Regions from separate parts of the Homo sapiens genome. Here region 2 is linked to region 1. The links are contacts of gene promoters, found by promoter capture Hi-C in human tissues and cell types (Jung and others, 2019). All regions are on one chromosome and are shown on one strand. Each heading gives the region's core, a stretch centred on a gene start or on the middle of the fragment in contact. The rest is flanking DNA. Distances are from core to core; before and after follow the strand shown. Region 1 overlaps CSDE1 (cold shock domain containing E1). Region 2 holds the start of OLFML3 (olfactomedin like 3).

Region 1 (4,433 bases), core at 1,356-3,855:
TGCCTACTTTTATTAGTGAAAATCTTTGCTCAAGACCCTTACATTTACTTCCTGTTGCTAATTGGCACAATAGTGCTTTTTTAGACCCCTGCTCAGTTTATACCTACTCTGTGGAACATGGTAGCCGCCAGCCACGTGTGGCTGTTGTGCACTTGAAGTGTGACTAGTTTGAATTGAAATGTGCTGTGATTGTATAATAACATTGGATTTCAAGGAATGTAACAGTGTCAATTTTTTTACATTGATTGCCTGTAGAGAATAACATTTTGGATATAATTGGTTAAATAAGACGTTTAATTAAAATTCCTTCTGTTTCTTTTGACTGTAATATGGTTACTAGAATTATAATTACACTGTATTTCTGTTGGAAACTGCTGGTCTGTGGTGTTTTCTGATGTGTCTAGAATGTTTCTTCAGCATCTTCCCACACTGCCATTTGTCCTGCTTAAAACTATTAGGTTTCTGGGTGTATATATAAGCAGTTAAGTGATAGATAATTTTAAATATCTCAGTAGCTGTTTAGATAATTAATCCAGCACAGTTGTTACTACACAGATACAAAAAGATAGTTGTGTCAGTTTGATTTTTTATTTTTACTCAACAGATGACTTAGGTTGGTTAATTATCTAGAGTTTATCGTTTACCTTAGATCCTAAAGTAAAAATGAATTAAGACCTATTAAGCACTTCAGTTATAAAATGTGGTGCTCAATGAAATGTCAGGCAATAGAGAAACTTTTCAGTCCTATGCTACCTATTTGGGTCTTTGTTTTTTCCTGCCTAAAAGAAGATACTGCCTAAAGGAAGTGGGTTAGGTGAGCAGACTTTTGTAGACTGGCTTAGCCTTTCATTAACTTTTCCCGAAGTGAGTGCTGCACATACTTTCAAAATAATAAACTAGGTAGTGTGATACATTTTAGATGGATTACTTACCACATAAATGTGTTAGTTTAACCTCTTCATTTAGTGCCGACTATGTCATGGCTTATGCTAGGCCTTTGAGGTAAAACAGCCGAGGAAGACATGAAATAAAACAGGTGGTGGCCAGGTGCAGTGGCTCACGCCTGTAATCCCAGCACTTTGGGGGGCTGAGGCAGGTGGGTCACTTGAGGTCAGGAGTTCGAGACCAGCCTGACCAACATGGTGAAACCCCATCTGTGCTAAAAATACAAAAATTAGCCAGCCAGGCCTGGTGGTACACGCCTGTAGTCCCAGCTACTGGGGAGGCTGAGGCAGGAGAATCGCTTGAACCCGGGAGGTGGAGATTGCAGTGATTAAGTAATAATACTATTTCCATGCTGAGCAAAGGGAAAAGGAGTTGATTACTTAGCACACAGTATGATTCTCAGATACACATTTAAATTGTTCCCTAGTGTTTTTATTGGTACCCTATGGTGGGTTTGTGGGGGCGATTGTTTTGAGTCAGCGTCTTACTCTGTCGCCCAGGCAAGAGTGCAGTGGCACAGTCATAGCTCACTGCAGCCTCAAACTCCTGGATTCAAGTGATCCTCCTGCCTCAGCTTCCCGAGTAGCTGGGACTACAGGTGCATGCCACCACACCCAGTGAATTTATTTTTTATTTCTAAAATTTTTTGTAGAGACAGCATCTCACCATGTTGCCCAGGCTGGTCTCAGACAATCCTCCCACCTTGGCCTGCCACAGTGCTGGGGATTACAAGCGAGAGCCACCACCCCAGCCCAATACCCAGTGTTTCATGCAACTTAAGTTTCAAGCTTTTAGGGGGATGGAGGAGATGCACTTGTGTTCCTAGGGTTAAGGCAAAAGAGGTGGTTAGTAGCACCAATTAATGTTAATCCGGGCATGAGTGGATAGCTATTTATATTAAACTGCCTGACCAATACCTTTAAGTTCTTCAGTAAGTGTTAATTTAATTGAAAAACATTTAGTTAACTATAGAAGCTGTGAAGATGTTAATTCGGCCAGTAAATTATTCATGACTGTTGGTGGGTTCGTTTGAGCTTTAATAGCTCCTAATAGACCTCATTAGTGCCTAAGAATGGCCCTGCAGTACTCCAGAGTTTCAGTTCCAGAAATCTCTTTTTTTGTGTTACTGAATCTTGGACTTGACAGTTCTTAATGTGATACGACAACCTGGAATGGGTTAATCCAGTTCAAGTGTTTCAAGATAACTTGTTTTCTCCATGTTGAGTTCTTTGGGTTCATTAATACACCTAAAGCATTAAGATAAAACCAATATACACAGTCTGTATTTTTTAAAGAAGAGATTATTTCTTGATTGGATAATTAAAACTATATAATTAAAGGTGGTATAACTGTTTACACTTGAATTGTGGCATAACTGTTTACACTTGAATTGTGGCGTCCTTTTGCTTATTAAGGATTAACTACCTTTTTCCTTTGGTTGTATATGGCAGCACTGGATTAGGTGCGAAAGGAGGCTGTGATAAAGAAATTTGAGTTTACCTCTCAGAAATTTGAAATAGAATTGGAGGAACAAGATACATAAAAACATGAAGTAAACAAAGTACAGAAATTGCTTGGTATCACTTGCTGCAAATTGCTTGGTGCAGGCAGTGGATGTTACTGCCCCATTCATTAGTAGGAATTAATGAATGAGTCTGCTGGAATGGTCAAGAAAGGCTTTTTTGTCACCTTGAAGATCACAACATAGTATTTTTTTGTGGGAAGACCCATATAAGCAAAGGTGGCTAGAATTCAGGAATCTCCCAAGAGTTGTGTTTAAGGATTAGGCGAGGTAATGGACTTCTGGTAGAACTGGAACACAGTAGAGAGTAAGGATGGAAGGTAGAATAGAGACACCTGGAATAGTAGTTCTTAATCCTGGCTGGAAGTCAGAAACACTTGGAGCAGGGGTTGGGGGGAGATAACAAGGCCTGGCACCTAACCTAGTGTAGTTAAATTTAGAATCTTTGTACGGGACTCAGGCTTTGATTTTGTTGGTTTTTGTTTGTTTGTTTGTTTAAGGTTGCTGGGGGTGGGTGGATAGCCAGGATTAAAAACTTCCCATCTAGAATGGTGGAAAAATAACTGAAGATGTTTGACAGGGGAGATGAGAAATGAAATTGGAGAGTTTTTGTTTTGTTTTGTTTTTTGAGACAAGGTTCTGATCTGTCTCCCAGGCTGTAGTGCTGTGTCACTATCTTGTTCTCTGCAGCCTTGACTTCCCAGTCCTAAGTAGCTGAGGCTCCAGGCGTATACCACCATGCCTGGCTAATTTTTTGTATTTTTAGTAGAGATGGGGTTTCTCCACGTTGCCCAGGCTGGTCTGGAGCTCCTGGGCTCAAGCAGACCTCCTGCCAAGGCCTCCCAAAGTGCTGGGATTACAGGCGTGAGCCAACTCACCTGGCCAAAATTCAAGTTTTTGATAGTCTGGTGGTGGTATGTGACAGAAAATGGAAAGTGTGCACACTGGAAGTTGGCGGATATATTAGACACCTGAGCTAAAATATGTCACTTAGTAGGATAAGAGATGAATACAAAAGATATAGCGAGGGAAATACTAACACAACTTGCAACATTGGGTATGGTGATGGAGAGGGGAAGAATCAAGATAGTTAAAGAAGTGGCCCTACCTCAAACCAGTTGTATTACTCTGAGTGGAGGCTGGGCATAGGTTTGTTTTTGTTTTTTTTTTTTTAAAGCTTCCCAAGTATTTGAGCACCATTACCCTGAGACATATATCTAGTCTGGGTAATAGGAGAATGATCTAAATAAAGTTGAAAGATCAGACAAGTGTATGTAACATTTGATATTTGAAGGAACATGGGATGTTAGAGAATAGAAAATGGCCAGATCAGCTGTTATTGAGTTTTTATTTTACATGTGAGGAAAGTGAAACTTAGAGAGATTAAATAACTTGTTCATGGTATTTACTAGTACCAGTGATTGCGATTAGGCTCTTCTGGTCTGAGCTATTTAATCAGCTCTGACCTCTCACCTGATAATCATTCTTCTGATGTTTTCAAATATCCATTTCTCAGCACGTACACCTTTTTCTTATCTCTGTAGAAATAATTTTCGTTAACACCATTTTGTAACTTTGGAGTCAGTGCAAAATTGTTGTTTATTTTATAGCTAATATAAAGCAGAAATGTGATTTTTACTGATAAATAAATTTTATTTCTCTTCTATAGACATTTCTCATCTATTTACTGCAGCAGTGCAAATGAGATTTCTGTTTGCTTACTAAGTCATCTCCTTTAGGATTTCAAGACTTAATACCACTTTCATCAAAAACTAAGGCACTGTTTCCTGTTACATCACGTTGAAATGCTTCATAATCGGGCTCCGCTACACCTGTCACACTACATATCCTATTTCACTTCAGCCCAGCTCTCTGTTCTAGCCAGGCTAGCCTGTTGATTTTCCTCTGAAACAACAAGCCACACATGTTGCCACAGGCATTCATGCAGAAGACTTCACTTGATGCT
Region 2 (4,559 bases), core at 913-3,412, 770 kb after region 1:
GGAGTGCTGCCCGTTCAGGGGTCAGGGTGCCGCTGGCATCAAAGGAGCACTGGATGCGGGCCCGACTGGCAGGACGGGTGTTATAGACGACATAGAGGGTCCCACAGATGACAAAGGCAGCCTCAGCATTCTCTCTGGGACATGGTGTGTCCCACTGCTGCTCTGTGTCCAGTGTCTGTGGATCTAACTTGGCCAGACACAAGTGCCTGTCATCCTCCCGGGTGGCATAGACAGCCCAAAGACCTTCCTCATCAGCTGCCAGGTCGATGTAGGTGTCTGCTGTCAAGCCGTAGGGGGGGATCAGCCCCTCTGCTGGGAATACTGAGCTGTCCACCACTGTTCGGTTTGCCAGGTGGAATTTGATTAGCTGCAAAGTGTTCTCCATCTCACCACCTCCACCAGGTCTTCCAGGAGGCCTCCGAGCAAAATAAAGAAAGCCACCATATACCAGCTGCCCTGTGCCTACCCAGGGGAAGGGCACCCGGACTCGGGAAGCTTTCCGGGCAGCCATGGCAAGGGTGAAGTCACGCAGCCTTGGGAAGACAAAGGCTGTGTCATTCTGTGTCCCATCTAACACGTAGATCTTCTCTGTTTGCCCCAGTGGATCCTTGGTCCATAGACCAGCTGGGCCACCAAATCGCTTCAGAATCTTCATTGATCTCACTTGAGAGATTGTGTAGCCACAGTCTGATGAGAAAAGCACAGGAAAAGGAAATAGAGGCAAGAATTAGATGCCTCCAGCAGGAACTCCCCCAGGGTGGGTGATCTGGAGAATAGTGAGCATTTGCCCAGTGGTTGCCTCCAATCTTAGGGAGAATTGAGAAAGAGCGGGTACCACAGCGGCCTGGATCCCCAGAACCTCTCCTTAATAGACCTGGCATTACAGAGGTTTCCCTAAAACAGATTCCAGAAGACAGAGCCACAATGGACTGGGACAAAGCGAAAAAAAGAGTAAGAAGCAAGGAAGGAAGAATATCGGTTCTGAGAAGAGTTAGGGGCCTGCTTTCAGATTATTTACCTGTCACCATATCGTACTTCTCATTCCTTCTTCCCTTGCCTTTGGTCCCAGGGCCTCCAGTCACCTTCTCATCAAACTCTACACAGGGCAGAGCTGGGTTCTGGGTCTCCAGATAGTCTACCTCCCGCTCCAGACGATCCACTCTCCCGGAGATGGTGTCGGCCTCAGTTCTGAGTGCCTCCCGCTCCTTCTCTGCCACCTCCAGCAGTGGCAGCATCTTGTTCTTGAAGTCCCGCAGCTCAGCAGCATGCCGACTACTCTGGTCCTGGCACTGGGCCAGCCGTTCCTGAAGGGATGGGGGATCAGGAGGGAGGCTGCAGGGTTACAACTCCCAGGCAGGGAGAGGCCCAACTCGGGAGTCAGGAATGGGAAAAAAAGAGCAAACTCAGCCAGGCTTCAATATCCCCTTCCACTCCTGCAGAAAAGGAAACCAGATGTGCAGAGGTGCTAAATGTGCAAAGAGCCTAGCTGAGATTCACCTAGGCCCCTACCCCGACTCCATGTCCTCCAGCCTGTGTTCTCTGTGAGCAGTGCCACTGAGCCATCTGAGCCTCTAGGCAGGTCTAAGCGCATGAAGGTGTGAAGAGGTCTCTGCTCCCTTAGCAATTATCCTCTCGGACACTAAAATGCTACGGATCTCAACCTGTTAAAAAGACAGGAAGTTATAGATTCCCCGGGAACCTCCAACTTCAACAGAATCATCACCTTCTCTGGAGATGCAGCCCCACAATTTTGGCTCTCGTTTCCACTCTGCCCCCTTATTCTATCTAATCCCAGAGGTAAAACGCAAAAGTCGATTTGCTTTGGAATTGTTCTATGTGGGGTAAGAGGAGGGCTTGTCATTCCGAAGGTCCTCTTATTAAGAGAGAATTTTCTGTAGACTCTAACAGAGCCCTTTCTTGTTATCCCCAGATCCCTAACAAACTGGTTGAACCAATAGCCCTGGAATCCTTCTAGGCGGGGCTAGAAGAGAAAGGGGTCCCTCACCTCTAAAGCAGCTAGTCGGCGTTCCATGTACTCCACAAGGTGGTGCTGCTGTCCTTGGAGGGGTCCCGACCATGACAAAAGGAACAAGATGAGGAGAGGGGTGCTGGGCCCCATGGCAGCCTGGAGAGTGGTGCCAGAGTAGAAGGAACGTACAGTCAGCCTCTTCCCCTCAAGCCCGAGGGTTAGCTTTGGAGGCGGGGTGGGGGCGGTGCCTTCTCTCCTGATCTCTGGGTCTCTCTCACTACTCTGGAATGCTTTCAGTTCTCTTTACAACCCCCACCCCCTCCTTTCCGCCAGGATTGATCAAACACAGATGGCCCCATTGCACAGCAGCCAGAAGCCTTAACCACCTCCCGCCTAGGCTGTAGGGTCCTCTGGAGGGGAAAGAGATGGAAACCCGAAAGCAGAGGCCTTCTAGGCAGTCAAGCAGGGAAGCTAGCTGCAGAAAGCAGAGACCCCAGAGAAAACTCAGCAAACGCCATTCCTGTTTTAGGAAAGTTTCACCAGTGCTGACTTAAGAAACTGACATTTTTCATTAATCTTTCCCTTTCCCTGCAATAGAGTGGGTTTTCAGCCTTGTTCAGTAGAAGCTGGGAGCTGGGGAGGTGAGGCTTGAAGGGAGGAAGCAGGAAAACAATGGCCCAAGTGGTCAAGCCCAACTTATTCTAAAGCTCATTGGCGCCACCTTGTGCTAAGCAGCTGGTGTCATCTCTCATGATAATACAGAAACTAAGGCTTAGACTTCACCCCATGAGGAAAATTTTCCACAAAAGCCAAATATATTGAATTTACAGGGGTTTTCACCACTGAAATGCATATTTCCCCCAAGACTATCCAATTACTACTTTGGGGGCTATGCAAATATCTGATTTAGCCCAAGGAAGAAAATATAACTGAGATTAAAAAAAAAAAAAAAACAGGTCACTGAGAAGTTAGTAAATTAACTCGATCGTCTGGAAGTTAAGGCTGACAGCAGCGCTGTTTTACATGGCTTTCCTTTGCTTGAAAGAGGCCAGATATAGTCTCTCACCAAAACTGAGGAGTGTTCAGTGAGTTCACACTAATTTACTATACATTCATGTATTGCGGGGGGGCGGAATCTGATATATATATATATGTTGTTGCAGTCTAGATCAATGTATTCTGACTTCCTTACCACTGGGAGAAAAGACTATTGGTTATTTCTCTTGGTTGTGGTCCAAAAGGGTATTTCTGAGTGTTTCTCATTTCTATATCCCAACTAAGGCTGCAGGAGCCCAAAATGAATTAATGGCCACCATAAGGTAGACTTGGGCCATAAGGTAGACACACGGGCCGAAAAAAAAAATCAAATAGAGCATTTACTCAGAGACCTGCAGTCATTAATCGAAACAAACCCCTATTTCTTTATCGGGAGAAATTCTATTCACTTTAGAATCAACAGAATCTGATGAGAGGTTCCTTCTGTAAAAAGGACCATGACTCTAACAGTACAGTTTGAAAGGAGGGGAAAAATAGCAGCTTCCTGTGGTTACTCATCTTTTCATTCTGCTACTGCTATCTGGCAAAACATATGAGGAAACAAAGCTTAATTAGCCGGTCTCAGAAGTCTTCTACCTCTTTCAAAGGGTCAGATCCAGATGATGTGAAGTAAGGACCCTGGACACTGCATTCTTGGGAAGTATTCCCTGCCAAACCCTATTCATTTCCAGTATGGAGATTTGTGTGAAGAATGAAATTGTCTCTAGTACTCTACTGATGTTCAAATACAATATGCTTAGCCACTTTCAAAGATGTCATTTATTGATCCCCTTTATATCCTATAACAGAAGTCAAAAACAGCCACATAAGTCAGAAAATTTACCCATTTTATTGATGCATTGCAATTGCTCTACATTTTACCATATTATGTAGAAAATACTGAAAATACAAGCTACTTTGTAAAACCAAAGACAAACATTGAATCCAAAGATAAACTATGTTTTACACAATGGACCCTTTTCCCATAGTTAGTATTAAATTTTAAATATCTATTTCTTTTGTTAAAATGATTATTTTACATACTCCCTAAGTACATCTGCATTACAAACATAGCTCAGTAATTCTCAGAAACTATCTGTTTCTAGAGGCTTGTTGTAAAAGAAAGCGCACAACCAAAAAAAGGGAGAAAGCAAAAAAAGTTTAAATCGCACACAATAACTAGCATATCAAATACATTTAATAAAGTAGGAATTCCATTGCAATATCAAGGATTCAAAGCAGAAATACTAACATTACATATAATGTACATATAATGTACTGCTACATGTAGTGAGATTATTTTTCAAGCTGAATTGAAACCACACATTATATAAAGTTTAGCAACAAACAACCATGTAGACATGCTGCACCATCTATCAGTTAAAAAAAAAAAAAATCAAAATAGGAAGCAGGCTCGGGCCACTCCTGTCACTGAGAGGCAATTTCATTTCCTATCCTAAAACAAACCATCTCAACTAGTGAATTTTTGCATAATAATGCTGAACAAAACACACATTACTGTGCTTGCCTGGCTAAGGGCAGTCAAGCTTAGCCC

What was found. Contacts are between HindIII fragments. The study calls those that stand out against the background at their distance.
Region 2: the fragment with the promoter of OLFML3 here is called in contact with a fragment that was not itself captured in region 1 in 1 of the 25 tissues and cell types used here (IMR-90 fibroblasts).

The regions. Positions count from the first base shown.
Region 1 is chr1:114,750,901-114,755,333 of GRCh38, reverse strand. The region is part of intron 1 of CSDE1 (cold shock domain containing E1); the gene reads left to right. Among named protein-coding and RNA genes, the nearest start is that of CSDE1, 4.9 kb to the left of the region's middle. The HindIII fragment of the contact is 5,566 bases long and covers 1-4,433 here.
Region 2 is chr1:113,977,077-113,981,635 of GRCh38, reverse strand. OLFML3 (olfactomedin like 3) reads right to left here and starts at 2,162. Exons shown (of 3, transcript NM_020190.5): 1 at 2,006-2,162; 2 at 1,019-1,304; 3 at 1-687. The coding sequence starts at 2,119. HIPK1 (homeodomain interacting protein kinase 1) reads right to left here. Exons shown (of 16, transcript NM_198268.3): 16 at 3,767-4,559. RefSeq lists enhancers at 1-417, 2,085-2,918, 4,224-4,559. The HindIII fragment of the contact is 5,723 bases long and covers 1-4,061 here.